Regions from separate parts of the Homo sapiens genome. Here all the other regions are linked to region 2. The links are contacts of gene promoters, found by promoter capture Hi-C in human tissues and cell types (Jung and others, 2019). All regions are on one chromosome and are shown on one strand. The core of a region is centred on a gene start or on the middle of the fragment in contact, and the rest is flanking DNA. Distances in the headings are between cores, read along the strand shown.

The links. The method cuts DNA at HindIII sites, captures the fragments that hold promoters and counts their contacts. A contact is called where the count stands out against the background at its distance.
Region 1: the fragment with the promoter of SYNGR2 here is called in contact with the fragment with the promoter of CYTH1 in region 2 in 1 of the 25 tissues and cell types used here (lymphoblastoid cells).
Region 3: a fragment that was not itself captured here is called in contact with the fragment with the promoter of CYTH1 in region 2 in 1 of the 25 tissues and cell types used here (spleen).
Region 4: a fragment that was not itself captured here is called in contact with the fragment with the promoter of CYTH1 in region 2 in 2 of the 25 tissues and cell types used here (dorsolateral prefrontal cortex and hippocampus).
Region 5: the fragment with the promoter of TK1 here is called in contact with the fragment with the promoter of CYTH1 in region 2 in 4 of the 25 tissues and cell types used here (adrenal gland, hippocampus, liver and 1 more).

The regions. Positions count from the first base shown.
Region 1 is chr17:78,167,311-78,170,010 of GRCh38, forward strand. SYNGR2 (synaptogyrin 2) reads left to right here and starts at 1,271. Exons shown (of 4, transcript NM_004710.7): 1 at 1,271-1,405. The coding sequence starts at 1,307. RefSeq lists silencers at 934-1,543, 1,574-1,733. The HindIII fragment of the contact is 23,749 bases long and covers 1-2,700 here.
Region 2 is chr17:78,780,753-78,783,541 of GRCh38, forward strand. CYTH1 (cytohesin 1) reads right to left here and starts at 1,521. Exons shown (of 14, transcript NM_004762.6): 1 at 1,450-1,521. The coding sequence starts at 1,471. RefSeq lists silencers at 641-1,040, 1,301-1,580, 1,621-1,780. The HindIII fragment of the contact is 23,878 bases long and covers 1-2,789 here.
Region 3 is chr17:78,253,999-78,256,820 of GRCh38, forward strand. It overlaps the pseudogene THA1P. Among named protein-coding and RNA genes, the nearest start is that of LINC01993, 23 kb to the right of the region's middle. RefSeq lists enhancers at 1-123, 124-841, 392-661, a silencer at 212-361 and a cis regulatory region at 2,559-2,822. The HindIII fragment of the contact is 6,404 bases long and covers 1-2,822 here.
Region 4 is chr17:78,037,006-78,039,721 of GRCh38, forward strand. The region is part of intron 4 of TNRC6C (trinucleotide repeat containing adaptor 6C); the gene reads left to right. Among named protein-coding and RNA genes, the nearest start is that of TNRC6C, 80 kb to the left of the region's middle. The HindIII fragment of the contact is 4,828 bases long and covers 1-2,716 here.
Region 5 is chr17:78,185,746-78,188,445 of GRCh38, forward strand. TK1 (thymidine kinase 1) reads right to left here and starts at 1,307. Exons shown (of 7, transcript NM_003258.5): 1 at 1,184-1,307; 2 at 1,042-1,073. The coding sequence starts at 1,249. It overlaps AFMID (arylformamidase), which reads left to right and starts at 1,617. Exons shown (of 11, transcript NM_001010982.5): 1 at 1,617-1,688. The coding sequence starts at 1,626. RefSeq lists a silencer at 1,460-1,599. The HindIII fragment of the contact is 12,138 bases long and covers 1-2,700 here.

The sequences.
Region 1 (2,700 bases), core at 21-2,520, 610 kb before region 2:
CTCCCACCTCAGCCTCTGGAATAGCTGGGACTGCTAGTAGCTGCCACCACGCCTCGCTAACTTTCGTTTTTGGTTTTGTTTGTTTGTTTGTTTGTTTGTTTGTTTTGTTTGTTTTGAGATGGACTCTTGCTCTGTTGCCCAGGCTGGGGTGTAGTGGCTCGATCTCAGCACACGGCCACCTCTGCCTACCGGTTTCAAGCAATTATCCTGCCTCAGCCTCCCAAGTAGCTGGGATTACAGGCGCTTACCACAACGCCCAGCTAATTTTTTTGTTGTTGTTGTATTTTTAGTAGAGACGGGGTTTCACCATGTTGGCCAGGCTGGTCTCAAACTCCTGACCTCAGGTGATCCAACCGCCTCGGCCTCCCAAAGTGCTGGGATTACAGGTGTGAGCCACTGCGCCCGGCCTTGCACACCATCTTTTTTTTTTTTTTTTTTTTTTTTTTTGACACAGAGTTTTGCTCTTGTTGCCCAGGCTGGAGTGCAATGGCACAATCTCGGCTCACCGCAACCTCCACCTCCCAGGTTCAAGCGATTCTCCTGCCTCAGCCTCCCGAGTAGCTGGGATTACAGGCATGCACCACCACACCAGGCTAATTTTTGTATTTTTAGTAGAGACGGGGTTTCTCCATGTTGGTCAGGCTGGTCTCGAACTCCTGACCTCAGGTGATCCAACCGCCTCGGCCTCCCAAAGTGCTGGGATTACAGGTGTGAGCCACCGCTCCCGGCCTTGCACACCATCTTAAGTGTGACGCCACACTGCCCTTCACAGCCTTGGGGCTCTGCCCAGACCAGGAGGAATGGGGAGGGGGTCTTTGACCCTACCCCAGGCTTAGCCCCAGAGAGGAGGAAAGAGTGGCAGGCCAGGCAGGGAGGGGCTCCAGGGTGTGGCCTGGGTTTTTCAGTGGGATGGGGGAGGGGTTGCTTATGAGCCTGGGTGGGTTCTTGGTAGGTGGTGGGCTTCCTAGAGGAGGCGGTGGGAGGGCAGGGGCAAAGAGGGTGAGCGGTCCTCAGTTCGTCCGTCTTCCCGGGGGACTCTCTGACCCTTTCTGGTCCGTGCTGCGGCCGGCGTGGCCCGGAGACTAGCCCCTCAACCCCGAGGTGGGGTGGACCCGGGTGCTCCGCGGCCACAGCCCCTCCCCGCCTCTAGAAGCGCAGTCCCGCGGCTCGCCCGCCGCTCGCGAGGGCCGCACTTTGCCCTCGGTCCCTAGCGGCGCCTGGCCACGCCCCCGGCGGGTGGAGTCGGGCGGGGCGCCGGGCAGGTTCCTCTGCGTTCCGCGGCGGCGGCAGCGGCGGCGACGGCGACATGGAGAGCGGGGCCTACGGCGCGGCCAAGGCGGGCGGCTCCTTCGACCTGCGGCGCTTCCTGACGCAGCCGCAGGTGGTGGCGCGCGCCGTGTGCTTGGTGAGCCCGGGGAGGGCGGGCCGAGGGCACCCTGGGGACCCCCTCTCCGTCGCCAGGCCCGGCGGGGCCCCTAGCCCACGAGCGCGACAGGTGGCGGCGGCCGCGTCCGGGGCCTGGCGGCGAGCGGGGCCGGCGTCCAGCGTCCCGGGCCCCGCCTTCCCGCCCTCCACAGTCTGTCCCGCTGTCCCCTCCCGGTCCCGGGTCCCGCCACCCACCCCACCCCCAGCCTCGCGCCCCGACGCGGGGTGTCCGGATCTCCGCAGGGAGCGGGCCCCTGCCTCGCTGGCAGTGGGAGGAGTTTGGGGGCGGCTCCCGGACAGGTGGCCCGCACGCCGCGACTCCCAGATTGGGGAGTTCACCGGGACGGGGTTTTCCGAAGCCACGTGGGGTAAGGGAGGGGGCGGGGGGCGACCCAACGCCCGGAAACAGGGTGTCCTTCCCACTCGGGGCAGGCCACGGGTCCGCCTTCCCACCCGAAGTTGAGGGACCCCAAGATGTACCCCCTCCCTGTAAGGTGGGCAATACCTCCAAAACCAGGTTTTGTGTGTGTGTGTGTGTGGCGGGGAGGGGGCCTGTTCTTGGACAGCCAGCCCTGAAAGCTGGAGGGGGTGGCATGAGGGGGCAGGCAGAGGTGGGCCTGCTGTGCCCAGACCATGCCTGGGCCTGGAGCTTCTGAGGTCCTCCAGGGCGCCCACACCAGCTCCCAGCCAGGCTGTGGGATCTGATCGCCTCTGTCCTGGGCTGTGTCCAAGAATCAGGTGCCCAGTGGGTCGGGATGGCAGTGCCAGGAGTCCTGGATGGGCACCCTGCTCCCATCATCCCGGAGATCCGGCTTCATCTCCATCTGGGGGCGGGGCCTGTGACTGCCAGCTCCAGAGCCCTATGGAGAGCTCCCTGGGACAACAGGGCAGGACTGGCAGGGGAGAGTCCTGGGGCCATCCCAGAGGGATCCTGATGCTCACAGACCTGTCCCACACCTGCTGAGGTGGAGCAGGCGTGGGTGGTGGCCTTCAAGTTTAGGGAGGTGGTATGGGGCTCTTCCCAAGGGGCTGGAGCTCCCCTACATCCACCCTGGGTCCTCCAGGTGTCTGAGTTCAGAGCTGTATCCACAGGCCTGAGTTAGTCCCCTTGTAGTGCCCTGTGCATGCAGGGCCCTCTGTGGGGTGGGAGACAGACTGGGAGGGACCAGGATGCCACAGAGGCTGCAAGTCCTTGTGTGGAGACAGCTGGCCAGGCTGAACCAGGGAGGGTTCCAGGGGTTCCAGGAGGTGAAGACACAGGGGCGCCAGCATGGC
Region 2 (2,789 bases), core at 271-2,770:
TCCCAGCACTTTGGGAGGCCGAGGCGGGTGGATCACCTGAGGTCAGAAGTTCAAGACCAGCCTGGCCAACATGGCAAAACCCTGTCTCTACTAAAAATACAACAATTAGACAGGCGTGGTGGCACGCGCCTGTAGTCCCAGCTACTCAGGAGCCTGAGGCAGGAGAATCGCTCAGCTCACCCAGGAGGCCGAGGTTGCAGTGAGCCGAGATGGCGCCACTGCACTACAGCCTGGGCGACAGAGTGAGACTCCGTTTCAAAAATAAAATAAAATAAAATAAAATAATAAAATAAAATAAAATAAAAAATTAGCCGGGCATGGTGGCGTGCGTATGGTTCCAGCCACTCAAGAGGCTGACGTGAGCTACGATCACGCCACTGTGCTCCAGCCTGGGTGACAGAGCGAGATCTCGTCTCTTAAAAAAAAAAAAAAAAGAAAAATGTCCCATTAGTTATTAAACTAGAATTGGGTTCCATTTGGCCACAGAGTTCTGCTTTATTTGTACTTTGCTACCAAACCACAAAAGTTCACCACTTGTTCTATTTGCCATTCTTCCTTTTAATTCCTCATGAACAAACTTAATAAATTAACTACAGCATGTCAAACAACCTTTTGCAACCCTTGCAATTTCAAACTCTTGGAGGGAGGCACCCCTGGCCTGGGCCAGCAGCCTCAACGCGCGGGAGCGAAGGGAGCGGGACAGCGGCTCCGCTTGCCAAGTCCCCAGTCAGGGGAGGAGCGGCGTCCCCACCGCGGTGCCCCTCGGGCTCCACACCCGCGTCTCGGCAGGCGGCGACGCACCGGACCGGCGGCTACCGGGCCCAGACTCCCGCGGGCAGGGCCGTCCCGGAGCCCGCGCCTCGCCGGCGGCGCCGCTCCCCGTTCTCATTTCTGAACAAAGACGTGGACCGGGCACAACTCGCTGACGCCGAGAGCGGCCGGAAACTGCGGGGAACGCGGGCCCGGCCATCCGCGCGTCCGCCCCGAGCCCCGCAGAGGGGCGGCAGGGCCAGCGACCTCCACCCCTCGGCCCCCCGGGACCCGGACTGCGACCCCTGCCCCGGGGACCCCAGCGACCCCAACGACTCTCATCCCTCAGAGCCCCTGAGATCCTGCCCCGCGACCCCAACGACCCTCATTCCTCAGAGCTCGCGGCGACCCCTGGCCCCGCGAGACCGCGAGCCCGGCCTGTGACCCCCGCCCCAGCCACCCACATCCCTCAGCGCCGCCAGCGACCCCGGCCCCGGCGACCCTCATCCCTCAAAACCCCCTGCGACCCCCGCCCCGCGAGGGCCCCGCGCACCGCTCGCCCGCCGGTCGCCCCGGGCTCCGCGTCCCGCACCAGTGTCCCCGGGAAACGCCAGCCGCCGCAAGCGCTGCCGGACGGCCGGGCCCGGAGGGGACTGGGGGACAGCGAGGGGGAAGCGTCCGCCGCCGGGGCGCACTGACCGTAGCTGTCGTCCTCCTCCATGGTGCGGGAGCCGGGCTCCGCGCTCCGGCTCGCCGCTCGCGTCCCGCCGCGCCACCCGCGCCCCCGCTCGCCTCAGCCCGGCTCGGAGCCCCGCCCCCGGCGCCCCGCGCCCCGCGCCCCGCCCGCCCGCGCCTGCGCCTGCGCCCGCCCCCTGCCCCCGGCCCGAGGCCCCGCCCCTCGCCCGAGGCCCCGCCTTCCTCCCGCGCGCGCCGCACCCCGGGTACCCGGCCTCCTCCCGAGGCTCCGGCCTGCGCACGCGCGTCCACCCGAGGCTCCTCCCCTGCCCCCGCCTCTAGACCACGCCCCCGTCCCGAGACACACACACCCCCCCCCCTTCTCCCGGTCCGCCTCCTGGGGCCGAGCAGGTTTCGGTTTCTGAAGGGCGGTGCAAGTCCCCGGGGTGGCGGACTCGACCTGGCCTGCAGCCAGGCTACTGCACGAAAGCCCAAGGTCGTGTCCGGCCACTGAAGGGCAGGGTGGTCCTTGCTGACGCCAACCTGGAAGGTCAGACCCGGCCCCAGCTTGCCAGGGAGGGCCCGGTCCTTGGCGAAAGGCCACAAAAGCTATTTGAAGTCATTTACTCCTGCGTTCAGAACCTTTACATGCTGTATGTCCTAAGTTTACTGCTTCTACTTCTTTTTATTTGTCCTGAGTTTTACCTGGGTCAAGATTGAAAGGAGGGCACTTCAAGTCCCAGCGTTTTGGATTTTATTTATTTATTGGAGACGAGTTTCGCTCTTGTTGCCCAGGCTGGAGTGCAGTGGCCCGATCTCGGCTCACTGAAACCTCCGCCTCCCGGGTTCAAGCGATTGTCCTGCCTCAGCCTCCTGAGTAGCTGTGATTACAGGCATGTGCCACCAGGCCCGACTAATTGTATTTTTAGTAGAGACGGGGTTTCGCCATGTTGGCCAGGCTGGTCTCGAACTCCTGACCTCAAATAATCCGCCTGCCTCGGCCTCCCAAAGTGCTGGGATTACAGGTATGAGCCACCGCGCTCGGCCTTCTCTTTCTTTATGACAGAGGACAATCCCACTGCTGCAGAATGCCAGCACCAGAACCCCCCTTTCCCCCTGCAGTCACTTGTGGCTCCTGCACCCTACACAGAACACTCACTGAGAACTCCACAGAGATCCCTGGACTGCTGGGAATTTTTTGGACCAACCAAAAAACGGGAGTAAAAGCCACAGAACTCTTTCCTTGTGGGCCCACCTGTCCTGAGTTTTACTATTTTTCTTTTTCTTTTATTTATTTATTCATTTTGAGACAGAGTCTCACTCGCTGTGTTGCTCAGGCTAGAGTACGGTGGCACCATCATGAC
Region 3 (2,822 bases), core at 58-2,557, 530 kb before region 2:
GGTGTTCATTACACCCATTTATGTCGGAGGTTGCAATTTTTTGAATTTTTGCCATCAGACCTTGGCGATGACCTTGAGCAGTAGGACATAAATACCTCCCAGATGCTTAGCGTTCCAATAATGGAACACTAGGCATAAATGGGTTTTAAGCGCCAAGGGAGCCACTTCCCCTGCGTCCCAGACCATCACGGACAGCGCTCCGCTGCCGCCTCCACGACCCCCGGCCTGCACGCCGGTCTTCGCCGTAGTCGTCGTCCCCCACGACCGCCTCGGCCATGACGCACCTCATGGCCGGCCCGGGCCTGGTCACCTTGTCGCTGCGCAGGCCCACCACGTAGGCTGCGACCCCCGCGCTCCCACACCCCGCCCGGAGCGCCCCATGTACCGGGGCCGCCGCTCGGGCCAGTCTGCGGAGCATGGCGCGGGCAGCGCCCGACTCCCCACCCCGGCGGGAGCTGCTGACTCCTCTACTCCCCAGCGAAGGCGGCGAGAGCGACGTGGTCGGTGCGGCCAGAATTCCTAGAGCTGGGAAGCAGCCGCCCTGGGCCGGGGGTCCAGGGAGCGAGCCCCGTGGCACGCTGGGAGTTGTAGTTCGCGCTCCCTCGCGGCGGGCGTGCGCGAGCGTCTGCGAACGGGCCCCGTGGCACGCTGGGAGTTGTAGTACGGGCTGCGTCGCGGCGGAGAACCAGCGAGCCCGTGATGCTGAAGCAGAAGGTTCTGCTCATTGAAGGAGAAACCGAGGCCGAGCGAGTGTGTGTGTGTGTGTGTGTGTGTGTGTGTGTGTGTGTGTGTGTGACAGAGTCTCGCTTTGTCGCCCAGGCTGGAGTGCAGTGACGCGATCTTGACTCACTGCAACCTCCGCCTCACAGGTACAAGCAATTCTCCTGTCTCAGCCTCCCGAGTAGCTGGGATTACAGGCGCGCGCCACCACGCCCAGCTAATTTTTTTTTTTTTTTGTATTTTTAGTAGAGAGGAGTTTTCACCATGTTGGCCTGGCTGGTCTCGAACTCTTGACCTCAGGTGATCCACCCGACTTGACCTCCCAAATTGCTGGGATTACAGGCGTGAGCCACTGCACCCAGCCCTGGGCGAGCTTTTATAACACAGACGCTCATGTGGCACTTGCCATGTGCCAGGCTCTGCCCCAGGCCCTTTGCAAATGTTAGCTCAGTTAAACCTCCCAACGACTCTAGGAGACAAGCACTATTGCTATCCCTGTCTTGCAGATGGGGAACAGGAGACGCGGAGCTAACGGACAGCTGGAGGCCACTTGGGTAGGAATTGGTCCGGGCGGGGTACCGCTGTCTCCAGAGGGCAGCCCTAAATCACTGTTTCATGCTGCCCCTAAAACACAGCTTCCCTCGTTTACCATCTTCAGTATTGATTTGTTGAGCAAGTTCGGTGCGCCAGGCAGTGTCCAGGTGTCCAGGTGCCAGGCTGGGGGACAGGGCTATGTCTCCAGCCGGGTTCCAGTCTAAGGGGAGACCGCTAAAAGAATGCGTGGGGAGCCCCTCCTCCATAGGCCCCTGCCCCTGGGTGGACTGCCTCCATGGGGGCAGGGTGGTGCTGAAGTTCAAGCCAGCTGTGTGGCCTTGGACAAGCCATGTAGCTTCTTTGTGCCTCGGTTTCCTCAACTGCAGATTGGGCTGTTGTGAGCATTCAGTGACTGGATATGTGTTTGGTGCTGACCCCAATGCCTGGCTTGCTGTAAGCTCAGGGTGGTCACCCCACTGTGGCTGTTTTTTAATTTTTTAAGACAGGGTCTCACTCTATCCCCCAAGCTGGAGTGCAGTGGTGTGATTACAGCTCAGTGCATTCTTGACTTCCTGGGCTTGGGTGAACCTCCCACCTCAGCCTCCCAAGTAGTTGGGACTACAGGCAAGTGCTACTATGCCTGGCTAATCTTTCTGTGTTTTTCGTAGAGACAAGGTCTTGCTGTGTTGCTCAGGCTGGTCTCAAGCTCCTGAGCCCAAGTGATTCTCCCTCAGCCCCACAAAGTGCTGGGATTACAGGCGTGAGCCATCACGACCTGCCCAGCTGTGGCTGTTATTATCATTGTCGTTACTGATCCCAGCTTGGAACTCTGAGGGCCCGGGGGCTTTGGGGTGAACTCTGACACAGTCTAGACTGTGGGGTGCCCTTCCCCCACACAGGGAGCACAGGCACCCATTGCCACTCAGCGGCTCCTCTTCCTCTTTCTGTCCCCCATAGGAGAAAGATCCAGGAGGGGCCACAGCTGCTGGGCCAAGCGTCTGGTGAGGGTGGCCCTTGGTGAGGAGGACACCCATCCTAGATCAGTCATGGCCAGGCCTTTACCACAGGCCAGCTCCAGGTCAGGCCTGGGGACTTAGGGCGAGCAGAGGTGGCCTGCCCTCCAGAGCTCAGGTCCCAGGGGTGGGGGACAAGATGCTGGCCGTGAGAGGATGGCAGCGAGGAAGCAGCTCTAACAGTCCCAGTCCAGGCAGCAGGGCAGGCTTTTTGGAGGAAGCAGTGATTAGGCTGAGCTTCGAAGATGGAGCCGACTTTGGACAGAGGGATAGCAGGGGTGAAGCCTCTGGGTAGAGAGGAGCTGCTGCGTTTGTGGCCCTGAGGGCCAGCGTGGCTGGGGAAGTGAGCAGGGGTGGGGATGGAGCCCAAAAGCTACATCCGGGGCCTGATGACCTCTCAGGGGCTCTCCATCTCTCTTCCTTCAGCTTGGTGGGAATTGTAAGTACCCGCAGGGTCAGTGGTCCCAAGGACACCCATGTGATGGACAGGCTTGCTGCCTTCCCCTCCCCAGAGCCCTTCTGGGCCTGACCCACAATCTGCACCAAATTCCTGCC
Region 4 (2,716 bases), core at 81-2,580, 740 kb before region 2:
ATATGCTTCCTAACGAGATGTAAATAGTAGATTAATCTGACTCTTAAAACATTTTGTCATAATTCACCTTTTGATTTACATTAATCTGCAAGCTTGCTTCTATAGAAAATTGCAACCACACATTTTGCCATTTCTTAGACAAACTAGTGTACTGGCTTCACACTTTTTCACTCTTTTTCCTTTTCTTCCTATATGAGAATGTTCAGGCAGCAGTGCCACACTCGGCTTGCACAGCTCTGAGAAGGGAAGAAGATGCTAGCCTTTCAGAACGGTGGTTTTGTCATGTGTGTCTTCATTTGTTCATTGAGCAGAACATTTGTTGAATGCCTACCAAACATCACATACCCTGCACTGGGGATGGACAATTCATGAGTGAAGTGTTTTGGAATAACCAATAAGTAAGTCAGCCACTTCAAGGTATTGTAACAGAGATAAGCATAGAGTGCCACATGGGAAGGACAACTAACCCAGACTACGGATAGGGGACTGCAAGGAAGCCTTTCTGGTGGAGGTGATATGAGCTGAGTTTCAAGTTAGCTGTGCTGGGCAAAGAAGGTGAAAGGGCGTCGCAGATGGAGTGACCTGCATGCATGAAAAGCGCAGACCCGCAGTTGTAAAGCCTCTCAGTAAGCGCTGCAGGCTCATTGTGGCGGGGGGCAGTGGGAAGATGTAAGGCTACAGAAGTTGGCTGTTGGTATTACTAAGTAATAGTAATAAACCAGCATAAAAGCTTCTTTTGGTAATAGAGCCAAATTAAATTCAGATTTAAAGCTCTTCCTCCAAGTTGCTTTTGGAACTTGATAGACTAATTCCAAACTTCATCTAGAAGAGCGAATGTACGTGAATAGAAGAGCCAAGAGACTGAAAAAGCATAATGAGCTATCACTTTGAGCTGTGATCCTCTAGTAATTTTAACAGCGTGTTTCTAGGGCAGGAGTAAACACAGATCCAGGAACTATGATATAAAGAGAGCAGGGGGAAAAACAGATGTATACACGGAGAGTTGCAGATCACTGAGAAAATAGTGGTTCAGATCAATATCGAGTGCTAGAAAGCCATATGCAAGACAAATATAAGAACTACAGAAAGATGACGTAAGAGAGTATTTTCTAAATCTTGGGATAAAATTTTAATCATAAGCCATGAAAAGAAAGACTGACAAGTTTGAGTGTATAAAAATTTAAAAGTTTTGTACATGAATATGAATAAAATCTGAGAGGACATGTTTACAGTGTAAATAGCAAAAGATAAATATCTCAAAAATACCAAGTGTTCCGACAAATCAAAAGAAAAACAGTCCCATAGAAGAATGGGCAAAGAATGTGAACGGGAAGATCATAGAACTACCACAAATGGGTCCTAAGTATGTTGAAAGTATTCCCTTGTGGCTGGGTGCGGTGGCTCACGCATGTAATCCCAGCACTTTGGGAGGCCGAGGCAGGTGGATCACGAGTTCAGGAGATTGAGACCATCCTGGCTAACACGGTGAAACCCCATCTCTACTAAAAAAAAAAATACAAAAAATTAGCCGGGCGTGGTGGCGGGCGCCTGTAGTCCCAGCTACTCGGGAGGCTGAGGCAGGAGAATGCCGTGAACCCGGGAGGCGGAGCTTGCAGTGAGCTGAGATGGTGCCACTGCACTCCAGCCTGGGCGACAGAGCGAGACTCCGTGTCAAAAAAAAAAAAAAAAAAAAGTATTTCCTTGTAATCAGGGAAAAGATAAATGGAAACAGCATTGATAGATCACTTTTCACTTACCAAATTGTCAAAACTTTAAATCTTGTTAATATTCCTCTATTGTAATAACACAGTACTATGGATTGAGTGCTTATCATTTGCAAGATCCAATTGCTTTACACATATTAACTCATTTAATCTTCTCAAGACCCTGTAATCACCGCAGGCGACCAGCGAGAGTGTGGGAAAAGGCGACGCTGGTGTGCTGTTGGTCGGAATGTAAGGAGGCATGTGGCAGGATTTATCAAAATGTTGGGTAATATGACGTAGTACATCCTGCAGACACCTAGAGCACAGCTCTTTACTGACGACTGAATGCTCTGCATTTGTCCTCTGCCCAGTGGCATGAATTAATAACAGGCAAGTTGGAACGTGTCGAGAGGCAGTAGGGACAAAAACAGAGTTGACTGTATTCGTTACAGAACAGGCACAGGTGTAGATAGCATTAGTCTTCCAGTGACCAGCAATCTCACTTTATCCTGTGATGATAAAGAGCAGCCTGTGTTTGAGAACCAGTTGAACTTTTGCTAGGCTGCAGGTCCCCACAGAACAGCAATTTCAAATCTTGCCCCCCCCCCCCACTCCCTACCTCTTACCAGGTCAGCCATCCCCTCTGTTCTTGGTGTCACCTTCTTGCCGTCACCCACGTTGGCCTGGGCATTGGGCAGAAGCTTCATTGGTTTTGTAGCGTTATTGATGTCAACAAGTATCCCATTTTAGAAGGTAACCAAGACTTCTAATACTTGCATGCAAAAATAAGTCCTAGATGCTTTTAATATTCGATAATGCTGATGTTGAAGTGAAATTCAGTCAAGTGAAACCAATTTTGTAATGGGCTGACAATTCTAAATGGAGCTTTCCAGCGTCCAGCTGACCCTCCTGCCAGTGGTTAATGCTGTGGCTGTTGTCAGGCAGCATCCTGTGGCTGCCATCCCTCGTGGGAAACACAGGCTTGCACACAAGGGCATCCAGAGCAGACA
Region 5 (2,700 bases), core at 57-2,556, 600 kb before region 2:
TCTCAAACTCCTAACCTCAAGTGATCAACGCACCTCAGCCTTCCAAAGCGCTGGGATTAAAGGCGTGGGCCACCACACCTGGCATACAGCTTTTCTAAATTAATTTCAGAAAGTCTTTGTGTGCAGCGTCAAAAGCACTTGCTTCTGGGTCCAAGAAGTCCAACTCTGAGCCACATCTTCCTGAGCAAGGGGTTTGAGCTGAAGTGATCCCCAGGGCCATAAAAGAATGTTGGGGCAGGGCATGGTGGCTAACATCTGTAATCCCAGCACTTTGGGATGCTGAAGTAGGAGGATTGCTTGAGACCAGGAGTTCAAGACCAGCTTGGGCAACATAGCAAGACCCCAGCTCTATAAAAATAAAATAAAATTAGCTGGGTGGAGGCGGGGGGGTGCACGCCTGTAGTCCCAGCTACTTGGGAGGCTGAGGTGAGAGAATTGCTTGAGCCCAGGAGTTTGAGACCAGCCTGGGCAACATAGCAAGATCCTACCTCTAGAAGAACAAAAACAAAACAAAAAGAATGGTGCGTGGGTAGTTTACTCAAGAAACTCACTAGCCCCACCCGGGTCAGGGAATGGTTCTATCACCTCAGGAGAGCAGAGGCTCCACGGCTTCAGACTCCTTGGTTTAGAAAGCGACTACGTTTCCTTGGCCTTAGAAGGAAACAGCCACATTGAATAGGGGTGTACAAAAAGGCCTGGCCTACAGGGGACACAACTGGTTGCCACCTTCTCAGAGGACTTGGTGGGGAAGACAGCTAAGCTGTAAGCAGCTGTCACCAGCTCCAGGAGGGAGTGGCGTCCACACAGGACGAGGGGCTTGGCCTGGGCAGAAGAGGGCAGAGACTTCCTCCTGGACTGAATTCAAGGGAGGAGCACCCCAGGCGGGAGCTGTAGGAGGCTGTGCTGGTCCTTCTAGGGGAAGGGAAGGGGAGGGAAGGGAAGGGGAGGGGAGGGGAGGGGAGGGAAGGGGAGGGGAGGGACGGGACAAGGGGTCCCCGGAGAAGAGGAAGGAGCTCCACCCCAGCCCCGCGAAGCCATTACCTTTTTCCTGAGAACATCGGCCCGAGAATCACCTAGGAGAGAAGGTGAGGTCATTTGAGGGCCCGCCCTGCGCGGATGCCTGGACACAGGCTATCACCACGACCACCTCATCCCCAGCCACGCGCAGGGCTGGCCCCCGCACCTGGATCTGCCCCCGGGTCTTGCTGGGGGAGCCAGGCAGCACAGTGGGCAGGTTAATGCAGCTCATTGCGCCTCCGGGAAGTTCACGAACCCGAGTACTCTCCAAGGCCGTCCCGCAGTAAGCCCCTGGTTCCCGCGCCGACCGCTTTAAACCACGGCGTGCTGGCCAATCACGAGCCGGCCCCGCCGCCATGGGGCCAATCAGCGCCCGGCCGCTGACCTGGCGGGAGATTTGGCCGCAGCCCGCCCCCTCGTGGGAGGAATCCGGGACGTGCGCCCAGGGACTGGGAGGGCCTGGAAATCAGGGCGATGGACGTGGCTGATCGGGGTGGGGCCTGGTCTGAGCCCCGCCTCGGTCCGCCCACCAAGTTTAAAGGGGCGGAGCGAGGCGGGGCTCTGGCCATATAAACAGAGGGACGCACGCCCATGCGGCTGTAGACGCCATGATGGATGTGTCTGGTGTGGGTTTCCCAAGCAAGGTTCCTTGGAAGAAGATGTCTGCAGAGGTAGGTGGATTGCAGGGAGGGACTAAGGGGCTGGGGCGGAGTTAGCTCATTTATTAGATTGGAATTCCAAGAAGGAAGCTTAGAAGCCGTCTAGAGCACTCCTGTGGGCATGCAGAGCGCCTAGTGCGTGCCAGGTCCCCAGTGCTTGAGCACCATGGTGTATTTTACCTTCTCCTAAGGATTTTTGTTAACCTGGTTTTCAGGATAAAGAAAATTGAAGTCCTGACTATGCTAATAATATCCGTAGACCCTGCCAGGCGTGGCGGCTCACACCTGTAATCCTAGCACTTTTGGCGGATCACGAGGTCAGGAGTTCGAGACCAGCCTGGCCAACATGGTGAAACCCCGTTTCTACTAAAAATACAAAAATTAGCCGGGCGTGGTGATGTACCTCTGTAATCCCAGCTACTGGGGAGGCTGAGACAGGAGAATCGCTTGAACCCAGGAGGTGGAGGTTGCAGTGAGCCGAGATCATGCCATTTGTACTCCAGCCTGGAAGGCTGGGCGATAGACCAAGACTTAGTCTCAAAAAAAAAAAAAAAAAAAAAAAAAAAAATCCATAGACCCGCAGGAGGTTAGGGGACAAAGTTCTGGACCTTGATCTGAGGTTACACAATGTTTTTGGGTCTGTGCTTATGTGGCACAGGCTGAAGGATTCAGAACAGCTGGTATTTACATTGGGGTTGTGAAGGTTAGAAACATACAGGCCGGGTGCGGTGGCTCAAAAAAAAAAAGAAAGAAAGAAAAGAAACCCATTGTATAATCATGATCATAAATAATAGCAACAAAGATGGTGGTAGTGATCACAGAGTGTGCCAGGTGTGGCTGTAAGGATCCTACAGGTAATAACCTTTCCAGGTACAGATTGGACAGATCCAAGGACCTCTGACAAAGAGCTCCTTCACTGGGAGGAAGAAGCAACCCACACTGACTGGCTTGCTTTATTTTACTCGCATGCTTTATCTCTTTTAACCTTGTGATTTGGATACATGCCTTCTTTTTTTGAGACACA